Linked DNA regions of Homo sapiens: all the other regions are linked to region 4. Evidence: promoter capture Hi-C in 16 types of primary human blood cells and fetal thymus (Javierre and others, 2016). All regions are on one chromosome and are shown on one strand. The core of a region is centred on a gene start or on the middle of the fragment in contact, and the rest is flanking DNA. Distances in the headings are between cores, read along the strand shown. Region 1 overlaps TRAK2 (trafficking kinesin protein 2). Region 2 has its middle 35 kb from the start of CASP8. Region 3 holds the start of CASP8 (caspase 8). Region 4 holds the start of TMEM237 (transmembrane protein 237).

Region 1 (2,700 bases), core at 38-2,537, 260 kb before region 4:
CCAACTTTTCTTACAAAAAAAGTTTACATATATAAATATACAACATTCCCTAATTCCTATTGATTGCACTTCTGGCTTAACCCCTTCCAGCCTCCAAGGAATTTTTAAAAACATGCAATTATGTTTGTATTCCTTGGCTACTGTACTTATTCAGACGAAATATTCTAAAAACAAGTTTTCTTGGTTTCAATTTACTCACATTTTGCCTCTTAAAAGTAAATCCCTCCCACCCTCTACCCAGTTGTTTTTTTTTTTGGAGGTTGTATAAAAATACAAATTTAAAAAATGAACTTTTATTAATCATAAATACAAAATAATTGAGTGGTATTTGGGCTCCCAGGGGCTCAAAGGCCTGAAAACAGAAAGGAAAATAGGAGTCTCCACCTGTGATTCAATGAAAAAGATGAAACTCCTAATTTTGCTAATGCTGCGAGCATACCATTTGATGGATACATAATTTAACCAGATATTAACAGGGGAAACATATAAGCCATCTCACTATTGTCTCAGTAATAGACTGAGCTTACCCCACCAACCCCTCAGAACGGCTTTCTATAAGCAATAAAACTGCTCCTTTTCTCTTCCCATCCTTCTAACCTGGGTTCTCTCTGCTTTATGCTTACCAGAAGTAAATGTGCCAGCAAGTTCAGTATCTCTGTATGTTTTAGTATTACTGAATTTATTTGTATTCACTTTTTATGTTCAAGACAAGAAAACTCAACTGAAGGAGTATATTAAACCTTTCTTTTCTCCCTCTGAACACTCATGGCCCATTCATTTATACTTTCAATTTGCCCGACTTCCTCCATTAGGGCTCATCCCAATTTTATTTCCATTCCTCCATTCCCCCTTTCACATTCACAACCCTTGTGCAACATTCCTTTTCTCTCAAGTCAGACCAGACCACATGTTTCAGTGCATATCTATCCTTCATGTGCTAACTTGTATAAAAGGTCAGTTAACTGCTGAACCTCAGTCCTCCTTCAGGACACCCATTTTGGGTGAGGATGTGCAAACTGGGGCAGCAAAGCTACCCATTATGACTGGAAGACTCTGATTCCTCCTTAGTCCACCTAATAAACTGCTACCTGAATTTAAATAAACAGCAGAATCTGGTTTTTGAGGACCAATTTCTGCCTCCTGGCATCTTCCATTCTCTTGGGCACCAGGGTTCTTGACCACTCTGGCTATCCCCAGTCTCTTCAGCCTGTCCACTAAGTTCATCTTCAACTGGCCAACATCAGGAGGGTTCCGGGAGGGTCTCAAGCCATACATCTCCTGGAGGAATGTCTCAGCTGGTCGAGAGGCCAAAAAATTTTCAGAGAGATGCACTCGAGGCTCAAAGGGTAAAGGAGAAGGGCAAGGTGAGTGAGATGGTGAATTTGGTGGTGTGGAAGGGATAGCCAGGGATTTAGGGAGAGGCTGGAGGGGGTTCTCTGAAATTGGGCTGTGGTACACTTTGGCAGAGATGCCTCGCTCTTGTAGAAGTTTGGCCAAGCTCATGGTGCTACTGAAGGTTGTAGTGGAATCTCGTCGGTTGGTGATGGACTCACCAATGCTGAGTCTATAGGACAAGGCAGGAGAATTCACAGCCGTGTTGGATGAACTGCTACCGCTACTTCCACAGGATAATGAAGGGAACCCAGAGCTTAAAAAAAAAAAAAAAAAGTGGGAGACAGTGTTTAAGAATAAAAAGCAAGCTCCAAGCTGGCATTTAAAGAAATTATAGTAGTTATCCTTGGTAAATATAAAGTAACAGGCAACAAACACATCCGTAACTGTATGCTGTGGAACAGATCTGGGGAATGAAAATTTTGACATGATACTTCAATGATTAATTATTTGTAATTCATAACTTAGTAATTAACTTATTAAAAGATATTTCTTTTCAGTGGGATATGAAAGGTATTGCTGTACTCTTAGATAACTTTACTCTTAAATTTTAACTCTAAAATGTACATCTGTAGAAATACAGTTAAATTTTATGATAGAAGGCAAAGAAATTTGAAGATTAAGGAAAGTAATTTAGAATGTTTATTCATATATCCATTCCATAAAGTGAGATACATTGAGACAATAATCCATGGGTAAACAGTTTACCAACTTTTAAAAAAATACAATCTTTCACAATTAAACATGAAAACTCTTCTGGGAGAAGTTTCTTTCTTTTTAATCTTTTAATTTTATTTCATTGAGAAATAAAAACTTCTAATTGTTAAATTTCATTTTCTCAAGAAATGTTAATTTCAAACAATAATGGTATAAAAATATCCATAGGATGAATTTTTTCTCAACCTTGACCTGAAACATGTGTTTTTAGGAAATTAAAAATAACTAATAGCTTCGACAACTATTCAGTAATACTTCTTCAGTATTACTTCAGTATTCAGTAATACTACTGAATATACAGAAGTGAAGGTGAGCTTGTGCAGAGGACTGGCCCTGTAAATCTTGCAGTTTGGCTAACTCCGGGTATATAGCCCCAGCTGGGTTATTAGTTGTCTGCCCTAGGACCAGTCACCTCAACCTTCCATGCCTCGGTTTACTTTACACAATACATACTTGCCTTGCCTACTTTTATAATAATCAAATGAGAAAATTCTTATTCTATGCTTAGTCGAAAAGAAAAACTAACGAATCATGTACTTGAGGAAACAGTGATGAAATAGAGATGGTACTTCTTTAGCCAATTTCCCTGCA
Region 2 (2,700 bases), core at 155-2,654, 420 kb before region 4:
TAACTGCAGCCTCTGCCTCCTGTGCTCAACTGATCCTCCCACCTGAACCTCCTGAGTGGCAGCTGGGGCTACAGGCAGGTGTTTTTTAAAAATGGAACTCTTTTCTTTTTTTTTTTTTTTGAGACGGAGTCTTGCTATGTTGCCCAGGCTGGAGTGCAGTGGCTCGATCTTGGCTCACTGCAAGCTCTGCCTCCCAGGTTCATGCCATTCTCCTGCCTCAGCCTCCCGAGTAGCTGGGACTATGGGCGCCCGCTACCACGCCCAGCTAATTTTTTATATTTTTAGTAGAGACAGGGTTTCACCATGTTAGCCAGGATGGTCTCAATCTCCTGACCTCGTGATCCGCCCGCCTTGGCCTTCCAAAGTGCTGGGATTACAAGCGTGAGCCACCGTGCCTGGCCAAAAAAAAATGGAACTCTTAATACATTAGAAAAAAAATGAAATCCCTTTTAAAAAGCACTAGAGGAAATTCTGTGTTTAAAGATTTACTTATTTGGCAATGCAAACAACTGTTTATTTCCTAACATAACTTTTGCAAATCTGAATTTTTATGAAAAGATTTTTAAATTAAAAATTTTAAATTGTACTAATTTTTACTTTTTAAGTAATTTTGAGTAGGTAATATTTTTATAAAGATATTTGTATGGTTTGAAGATAAGAAAATTAAAGGTGTTCAAGAAGAGTTTTGCCCCCAGTTCTGTCCACTGTATACCCAGTCCTCCCCACTTCTGCATACATATTTCAGACAGGTATTTCTTGGAAGAAAGAACATATGCTGTGAAACTTACATGTCTCAGTAGGTCTCATTTTAAGTGATTCTGTAAAATGCCTGGGAAATACTGGTGAAATTCTAGAATGGAAATAACTTTGTGAGATTTTGAGCTGAGTACTGGTAAATAGTAGAAATGGACTTACTAATAAATAAGGGAATTTTATTTGATAACTTTTTTCTGATTACATAGTAATGTATGTTCATTATGGAATATTTGGGAAATACAAAAACACACCAAGAAAAAAGTATATTTATTTATAATTCTATTTTGCTATGTATTTTCCCATTATTCACTCTGTGTTTGTCACAGATTTTTCCCCACCCTTTTTCAATGAGTGTATCCTCCATGTCCCCCCAATCATGCATCCAGTAAACTTTGTCATTACTACCATCTGTACTTTCACTCACGTTTCAATTCCAAGCATGTCCCTCTCTGACAACCACCTCCCATCATTCCATCTTGCTTCTTCTAGGACCTTCCCTTCAAGGATCTTCAGTGCCACCAGGGCTTCCAGTTAGGTTGACTGACCCTATCTATTGTCTTCCCGATGTCAGCACCGCCCCTCACTCCCTCTTCATTCAGCTTAGAGTCCATGTGTCTTTGTTAAAGTCTCCTGTACCCACCAACACCCTTGCCTTTCTGTCAGTTCCACTGAGGTGGTAGAATCCCAACTCTGGTTAATCCTATAAATCCTTGTCCTCCAAATTTGTACTGGAATTCCAGGATGTGGCTGGGGTAAAAACCTTCCATGTTGCAGACAGGTCTCGTTTCAAACCAATGACCACAAACCTCCAATGGGCTTTCAGGGGTTTCGGCAATGCTGTGACATTTCCCTGGTTATATCACCCTTTTGCACTCTCGGTCTGTTTTACTAATCATCGAATTCTCTATGATCTCAACCTAAAAGGTTAGAGATATTTCCTGAGAAGCCCCACCTTTTCTCTTGATAACCCACTATGGAGCTGTCATTTGTGAATTTAAGAAGAAACACTTGCCTCTTGACTATTTTAAAACATCAAAAACAACATTTAAAAATTGAAGGATGAGGCCGGGGTGTGGTGGCTCGCGCCTGTAATCCCAGAACTTTGGGAGGCCGAGGCAGGCGGATCACCTGAGGTCAGGAGTTCAAGACCAGCCTGGCCAACTTGGTGAAACCTGTCTGTACTAAAAAAAATTAGCTGGGCATGGTGGCGCACACCTGTGATCCTAGCTACATGGGAGGCTGGGGCATGAGAATTGCTTGACTCTGGCAGGTGGAGGTTGCAGTGAGCCAAGATCATGCCACTGCACTCCAGCCTGGGTGATAGAGTGAGACTCTGTCTCAAAACAAAAACAAAAACAAAACCTGAGGGATGAGCCACAAACTGGGAAATGATATCTGCCACGTTGTATAACTGATAAAGGAGATATATGTACATATACTATATATATAATCTTCTATAAATCCATAAAATATTAAACAATCCAACCTAGATGGGCAAAAATATAAACTAGTTCAAAGATGAGCAAAAAATATGAACCAGTAATTAAAAGGAAATACCAATGAGCAATAAATATATGAAAACATAACCATTCTCTTTGGTCATCAGAGAATTTGAAAAATACAGCCACAGTGAGATAGCATTTTATGTCCATCATATTATCAACATTTAAAACTCTGTCAGTACCAAGTGTGGGTGAAGATACAGAGCAAAGGGAACTCTATTACATCGATCTAGGAAATGTAAATTGACACAATCATTTTAGAGAGCAATTTGCAATATTTATAAATGTTGGAAATTTGCACACAGTAAAATCTAGCAATTCCATTTTTGGATCTATGTCCCAAAATAAACTTAAAAACATTGTTTTGTAGAGACAGGGTCTTGTTATGTTGTGCAGGAAGGTCTTGAACTCCTGGCCTCAAGCAATCTTCCTGCCTCAGCCT
Region 3 (2,700 bases), core at 1-2,500, 380 kb before region 4:
TTACTTGCCACCGACAGGGGTTATTATTACTAAATGGAGTCAGTATAAATGCTTTCCAATAAAGCATGTCCAGCGCTCGGGCTTTAGTTTGCACGTCCATGAATTGTCTGCCACATCCCTCTTCTGAATGGTTGGAAATTGGGCATCTGTTCCTTTAAACAGGAAACATTTCTTGTTCGAGTGAGTCATCTCTGTTCTGCTTTAGGAGTAAAGTTTACCCTGCAGTTCCTTCTGTGGTGAAGTTTTCTCTTTCTCTCGGAGACCAGATTCTGCCTTTCTGCTGGAGGGAAGTGTTTTCACAGGTTCTCCTCCTTTTATCTTTTGTGTTTTTTTTCAAGCCCTGCTGAATTTGCTAGTCAACTCAACAGGAAGTGAGGCCATGGAGGGAGGCAGAAGAGCCAGGGTGGTTATTGAAAGTAAAAGAAACTTCTTCCTGGGAGCCTTTCCCACCCCCTTCCCTGCTGAGCACGTGGAGTTAGGCAGGTTAGGGGACTCGGAGACTGCGATGGTGCCAGGAAAGGGTGGAGCGGGTGAGTGCCTGTTGCCAAGGTGGCCTCTTCAACAGGAAACCACAATATTTTTGTTTCTTGACTTGCTCTAGAAACAGGGCTGTGGGGGTGGGGAAGCAACTTGGATCTGCCCTTCTGAGGACACCTCTGGGTGCTGCCTGGCCCAGGTCTCCTGTGTGGTTTCTCTCTGAGCCGTTGCCTCTGACTTTGCTACTTTTTCACTCTGAGCAGTCTCCAGTTCCTCTGCTACCTTTTTGTCCTCCAAGCTTCCCTGCCGCCTCGAATGCAGATACACGGTCTCCCTCCTGTGGACCCGTTTGGAGAGTCCAGAAGACTTTATCAATCCACTTTTTTTTCTTTTTCATTTGGCCCTGGGGCCGACGGTTAAGTACTTTATTCTGTCATTCTGTCGAATCACGATGCCCTGAGGTGCACAGCCCCTTCCCCCTCTTCCGTGTCTGAAGGGTTTCCTTTTATCTCTCCACCCCCACCCTTGCCCTCCTGCCCTCTCTCTTGTTCCCCAAAGACAGTTCTCTAATGTTTTGATGTGGATTCGTGAATTTATCTGTATCTTTGCAAAATGTATTTTTCTTTTGTATGTGTACACTGTTTTTTAACTATGCGATCTCAGGCAAGTAATTCCTCTGTGCCTCTGTTATCTCATCATTAAATGATTAATAATGCCTCCAGAGGTGACTGTGAGGCTTGAAGGAGATAATACGCATACATCACTTACTACACGAGTTAGCAATTATTATTGCATATTAATACTATTGGTATTTTATTTTGCTCATTCTGTTTCTATTTCTTTTTTATTTATTTATTTTTTGAGACAAAGTCTTGCTCTGTCACCCAGGCTGCAGTGCAGTGGTGCAATCACGGCTCACTGCAGCCTCAACATCCTGGGATCAAGCAATTTTCCCATCTCAGCCTTCAGATTAGCTGGGACCACAGGCGCGTGCTACCACACCTGGCTAATTAAAAAATTTTTCTTCATAGAGATGGTGTCTCATTTTGTTGCCCAGGCTGGTCTCAAACTCCTATGCTCAAGGGATCCTCCCACCTTGGCCTCTCAAAGTGCTAGGATTACATGCATGAGCCACGGTGGCCATCCAGGCATTGATATTATGAGGCCATCTTGACCTAGCCCTCTCTGGTGAAGAGTCCTTTTCAGATACTTCGTTCAGTCTTCTCAGCTATGAGTCCCTACCCTCTGAAAGCTTATATTCTATTTGGGGAAAGACAAAAGGCAGTTTCAAAGAAGAGAGGTGTTTGATTTTCTTTTCCTACTTTTAATATCAGAAAACATTTCATCTAACTCTCAGTATGAAGGCAATATTTTGTTTACTGGTATATCCCTAGAGCCCAACATGGTGAGGGCCCCAGGATTTGCTTCTTTGATAAGATGGTAAACCCAGCTTTCAGCTAACTTCATGGTTTCCTCAGCTACACTCATATACAAGGATCACCTTTGGTAAGATGGACTTACCATCTTACCAAAGAGTTTTTGCATTTTAGAGTTTTTTCTTTTTAGATTTTTTTCATTTTAGAATTTTTTTATTTCAGAGTTTTTTCTTTTTAGAGGTTTTTCATTTTAGAGTTTTTTCTTTTTAGAGTTTTTTTTTTTTTTTAATTTTAGAGTATTTTAGGCTGCTGAGGGTGGAATCTGGTGACCTTGGGGCCACAGAGATGCTCCTTGGCTAAACCAGGGGCTTTAGCTCTGAAAGTTCACAGCCACCCTGAGAACCAAGATGAGAGGGCTCTGCAGTGTCCAATCTCAAGACCTCTCTGAGGTGCTCCATCAAGATTCATTGAATGAAAAAATTAAAGTCTTAATGATGAACCCAGAAAAATCTTTAAATCCTAAATATGAAATGAAAGTGTTCTTAGTTACAATCCAGTCCAACGTCCTTGTTTTGGAATGTGGAAATGAGGCCCCAAAGGTAAAATGGCCCATCCAAAGTCACAGCCAGGGGCCAGTGCTCAGGTGGCCAGGTGCCCTGCGTGCGGTCTCCTGGACCACCAGGCCTTTTTCCTGCAGCTTTAGAAGCTTTAGAAGGCACTCTGCTCACTCAGGGGCAAGTGGTAAGCGCTCTTTCCCCTCTAGTGTTTGTGACTCAGGAGTTTCGAAACAGGAAGTAGAGCTGGCTGGCTGTGCCCTTCCGTCCTTCATTAGACGTTTGCTCTTGTC
Region 4 (2,700 bases), core at 1-2,500:
CAAAAGGGTTAAATTTTAGACACTCTTGTAGTTTGTCCCATTTAGCAATCCATTCGTTCGAACAGTAGATTAATGCAAGTACTACAAGATTAGGACGAGGCAAGCTGCCGTAATACCATCCAGTAGTCAAAATTACAATTGGAGAAGAATGACAGTCACAGGAACGCGCTATTGTTCTAAAGATGCTACGAAGCGCGCGCGATCGATCCCAGGGCTCTGTTCACGTAACTGATTTCAAAAGTCCCGCAAAAATGACGTTCCACCCACCCAGAGACCCAACCTCTAATCCTCAAAAGTAGGACGGCTCAACTGAAGACAAAAATCCTAACAATTAAAAGTAGCTAAGGCTCGCTTACCACAGGATTCTTCCCCATTCTGCGTTTAGCCGGCCTCGGCGGCCGCCGGCCCCCAAGCACCTGGCGCCCCACCCCTCCCGGCTCGGTCGCGCGCGCAGGCGCAATGCGTCATCGGGCCGCGCCGCCTGGCTAGTACCCCGCGCGCAGCGCCCTGCGGGGATGTTGCGGTGAGAGGCGTGCAGGGACCTGGATTGGCCAGTCCAGACTAGCCCTGCCAAAAAGGGGGCCTCGGAGTTGGGGGTAATGTGCCCAGGAGCAGAAATCTGGCGACCGTGGCGCTGCAATCACAGCTTTCCCGTGGTTTCCTAAGTGGTGGCGGTGATTTGTTTGCGGGAAGCGGGGCGTGACGGAAGACCTTAATTAAAGGACTCCGCAGGCGAACAGATCTCTTCTGGGCAGCTACAGACCTCTCCTCGGAGGAGTCTAGGAGAGGCCTGGCTGGAAGCCCCGGCACCCGCCGGGCCCCGGGCCTCAGATGAGTGAGGCGTCGTCGTGGCAACGCGGGCTCAGGTCCCCGCAAACTTCATGCCAGGCCTCTCTCTCCCACTCCGGGAGTTCGGTCCCGGCCTCGCCTGCGTCTCCGTCCCATTCCTGTGAACACTGGAGGGGCGGATGCGCGCACCCCACGAGCAAGGCCCTCCCTTAGTGATTCCCAGCTCGTTGGCGCCCCCCCACACACACCCACCCCCACTGCCAAGTGTAGCTGTTTACCCGCCACCTCTCGAGGCCGACGCGCCCCTCGCCGCTCACCAGGTGGCCCTCCTCCAGCCGAGCCCCCGAGTCAGTCCTCATGGTGCTCTCCCCGCGGGGCTGCCCCGGCGCAACCGCCGGCGGCCCGAGCCCAGCTCCCCGCGACGCAGCGGCCTCCGGGACCTGTGGGACGCCGGGGCTTCGTGGCGCCTGGCGAGGCAGCCGCCCCCTGAGCCAGGTCCCCGCCCGCCTCTGTCCTGCCAGGCGCTGCTGGGTTTGGGAGGAATGCGTTTACTCTCCAGGACCAACGAGTCTGTGCAGGCCTGGGTGTGTGGATGTGTATTAATATAGGCAATTCTCACATTTTCTCCGATTGCTTACCCTTCATCCCACAACTGTGTAAATCAAATTTGGAAAAACTTTTTCTCAACCTTAAAATCAAATCCAACCTCACATAAATATCACTACAAACTACCTGATTTGCATCGTTTGGTTTGGTTGGGTTTGTTTTTTTTTAAAGATAACTTTCACTTTAAGTAACAGAGAACTACAAATATTTTGAATCATGCATTCTGTTTTACAGTTAAGAAAGAAATGGGAAAGATGGAAGAATGGTGTGGATATGGAGAAGAGAATGATGCAGAAGATGAACAGATACAGGGACAGGGAAAGCGCCTGGAAATCTCAAATCTGGGGAAAGAAAGAGAAACAGCACTTTGTAATGGCATCCTAATCTTGTTACCAAACAAACGGGGCTTGTTGCCCTATACGCACAGAAGCCAATATTATGGCGCTGATTTTTTGAGAAAAGTTTTCATTGTGAGTCAGCTAACAAGGAGACAGGAGTATAGCTCTAATCTGTCTCCCTGTGTTGGCTTTAAGACAGTATTTTTATTAGAAAACGTTTAGGGGGTGGATTCTGGGATTAGTAGGTGATTGGTGGAAGGAAAGAAGCCATCTGGAAAATCCTCTGGCGTTCGCAGTTACCTCTTCATGTCCCTTCATGGGTCGCATGTGCAAATTTTGGAGGGAGTCAGTGTGAAACATGGGGAAAGATTCAAGCTGTGACGCCAGCAAGCTCATTTTGTACAGACTCCAGGTAGCCATCCGTGTTAGTACTAACCACTTTCAGCCAGTTTGCTTTGTTTTGTTTTGTTTTGTTTTTTAATCTCACAATGGAAGAAGTTTAGGCGTTTTATTTAGCAAGTTGTTTTTTATCTGCCGTCCTGCATGCTCAAGAATTTCTGTTAGTCCCTGGTTTCTTTAACTCTGAGACACGGTTTCACTCTTGTGATTTTCTATATATAGGTCTCTGGGATTAATCCATTGCCTTTTTCTAATTTAGGCCTGCATGTAGATATTGGCTGTTAAGGAAAATTAGTGTTTGTCACACCTCTCATGAGAATAATTTTTTCCTTGTAGGCCGATTTGTAAATAGTGAAGGCAGTGCAGTTTCTTGTAGGTTTTGATTTTAGATGTGAAATGTGTACATTAAACCTTTCTTGCTGAGTTAGTCAAGTAAGCACTTTTTGTAAAAGATGTTTTCATAAAACACGTTTCATAGAGTACAGTTTCTAAAGTTAACTATTGCTTATTTTATTTAGGAAAGCTCTTTATTTAAATCTTAAAAAGATCATGTGAAATCTGCGAAAGG

What was found. The method cuts DNA at HindIII sites, captures the fragments that hold promoters and counts their contacts. A CHiCAGO score of 5 or more calls a contact.
Region 1: a contact is called between a fragment that was not itself captured here and the fragment with the promoter of TMEM237 in region 4, in 2 of 17 cell types (endothelial precursors and erythroblasts). The highest score is 7.0, in endothelial precursors.
Region 2: a fragment that was not itself captured here is called in contact with the fragment with the promoter of TMEM237 in region 4 in 1 of 17 cell types (fetal thymus); the score reaches 5.5 in fetal thymus.
Region 3: a fragment that was not itself captured here is called in contact with the fragment with the promoter of TMEM237 in region 4 in 2 of 17 cell types (megakaryocytes and endothelial precursors); the score reaches 8.3 in megakaryocytes.

The regions. Positions count from the first base shown.
Region 1 is chr2:201,379,571-201,382,270 of GRCh38, forward strand. TRAK2 (trafficking kinesin protein 2) reads right to left here. Exons shown (of 16, transcript NM_015049.3): 16 at 1-1,648. The coding sequence ends at 973. Among named protein-coding and RNA genes, the nearest start is that of FLACC1, 24 kb to the left of the region's middle. The HindIII fragment of the contact is 3,042 bases long and covers 1-2,700 here.
Region 2 is chr2:201,223,870-201,226,569 of GRCh38, forward strand. It overlaps a transcript of CASP10 not described here. Among named protein-coding and RNA genes, the nearest start is that of CASP8, 35 kb to the right of the region's middle. The HindIII fragment of the contact is 4,030 bases long and covers 1-2,700 here.
Region 3 is chr2:201,257,853-201,260,552 of GRCh38, forward strand. CASP8 (caspase 8) reads left to right here and starts at 2,684. Exons shown (of 9, transcript NM_001372051.1): 1 at 2,684-2,700. RefSeq lists enhancers at 259-388, 348-492, 489-548, 569-988 and a cis regulatory region at 420. The HindIII fragment of the contact is 954 bases long and covers 774-1,727 here.
Region 4 is chr2:201,642,253-201,644,952 of GRCh38, forward strand. TMEM237 (transmembrane protein 237) reads right to left here and starts at 1,251. Exons shown (of 13, transcript NM_001044385.3): 1 at 1,107-1,251. The coding sequence starts at 1,148. MPP4 (MAGUK p55 scaffold protein 4) reads right to left here. Exons shown (of 22, transcript NM_033066.3): 22 at 2,622-2,700. RefSeq lists silencers at 350-539, 1,110-1,369. The HindIII fragment of the contact is 8,699 bases long and covers 1-2,700 here.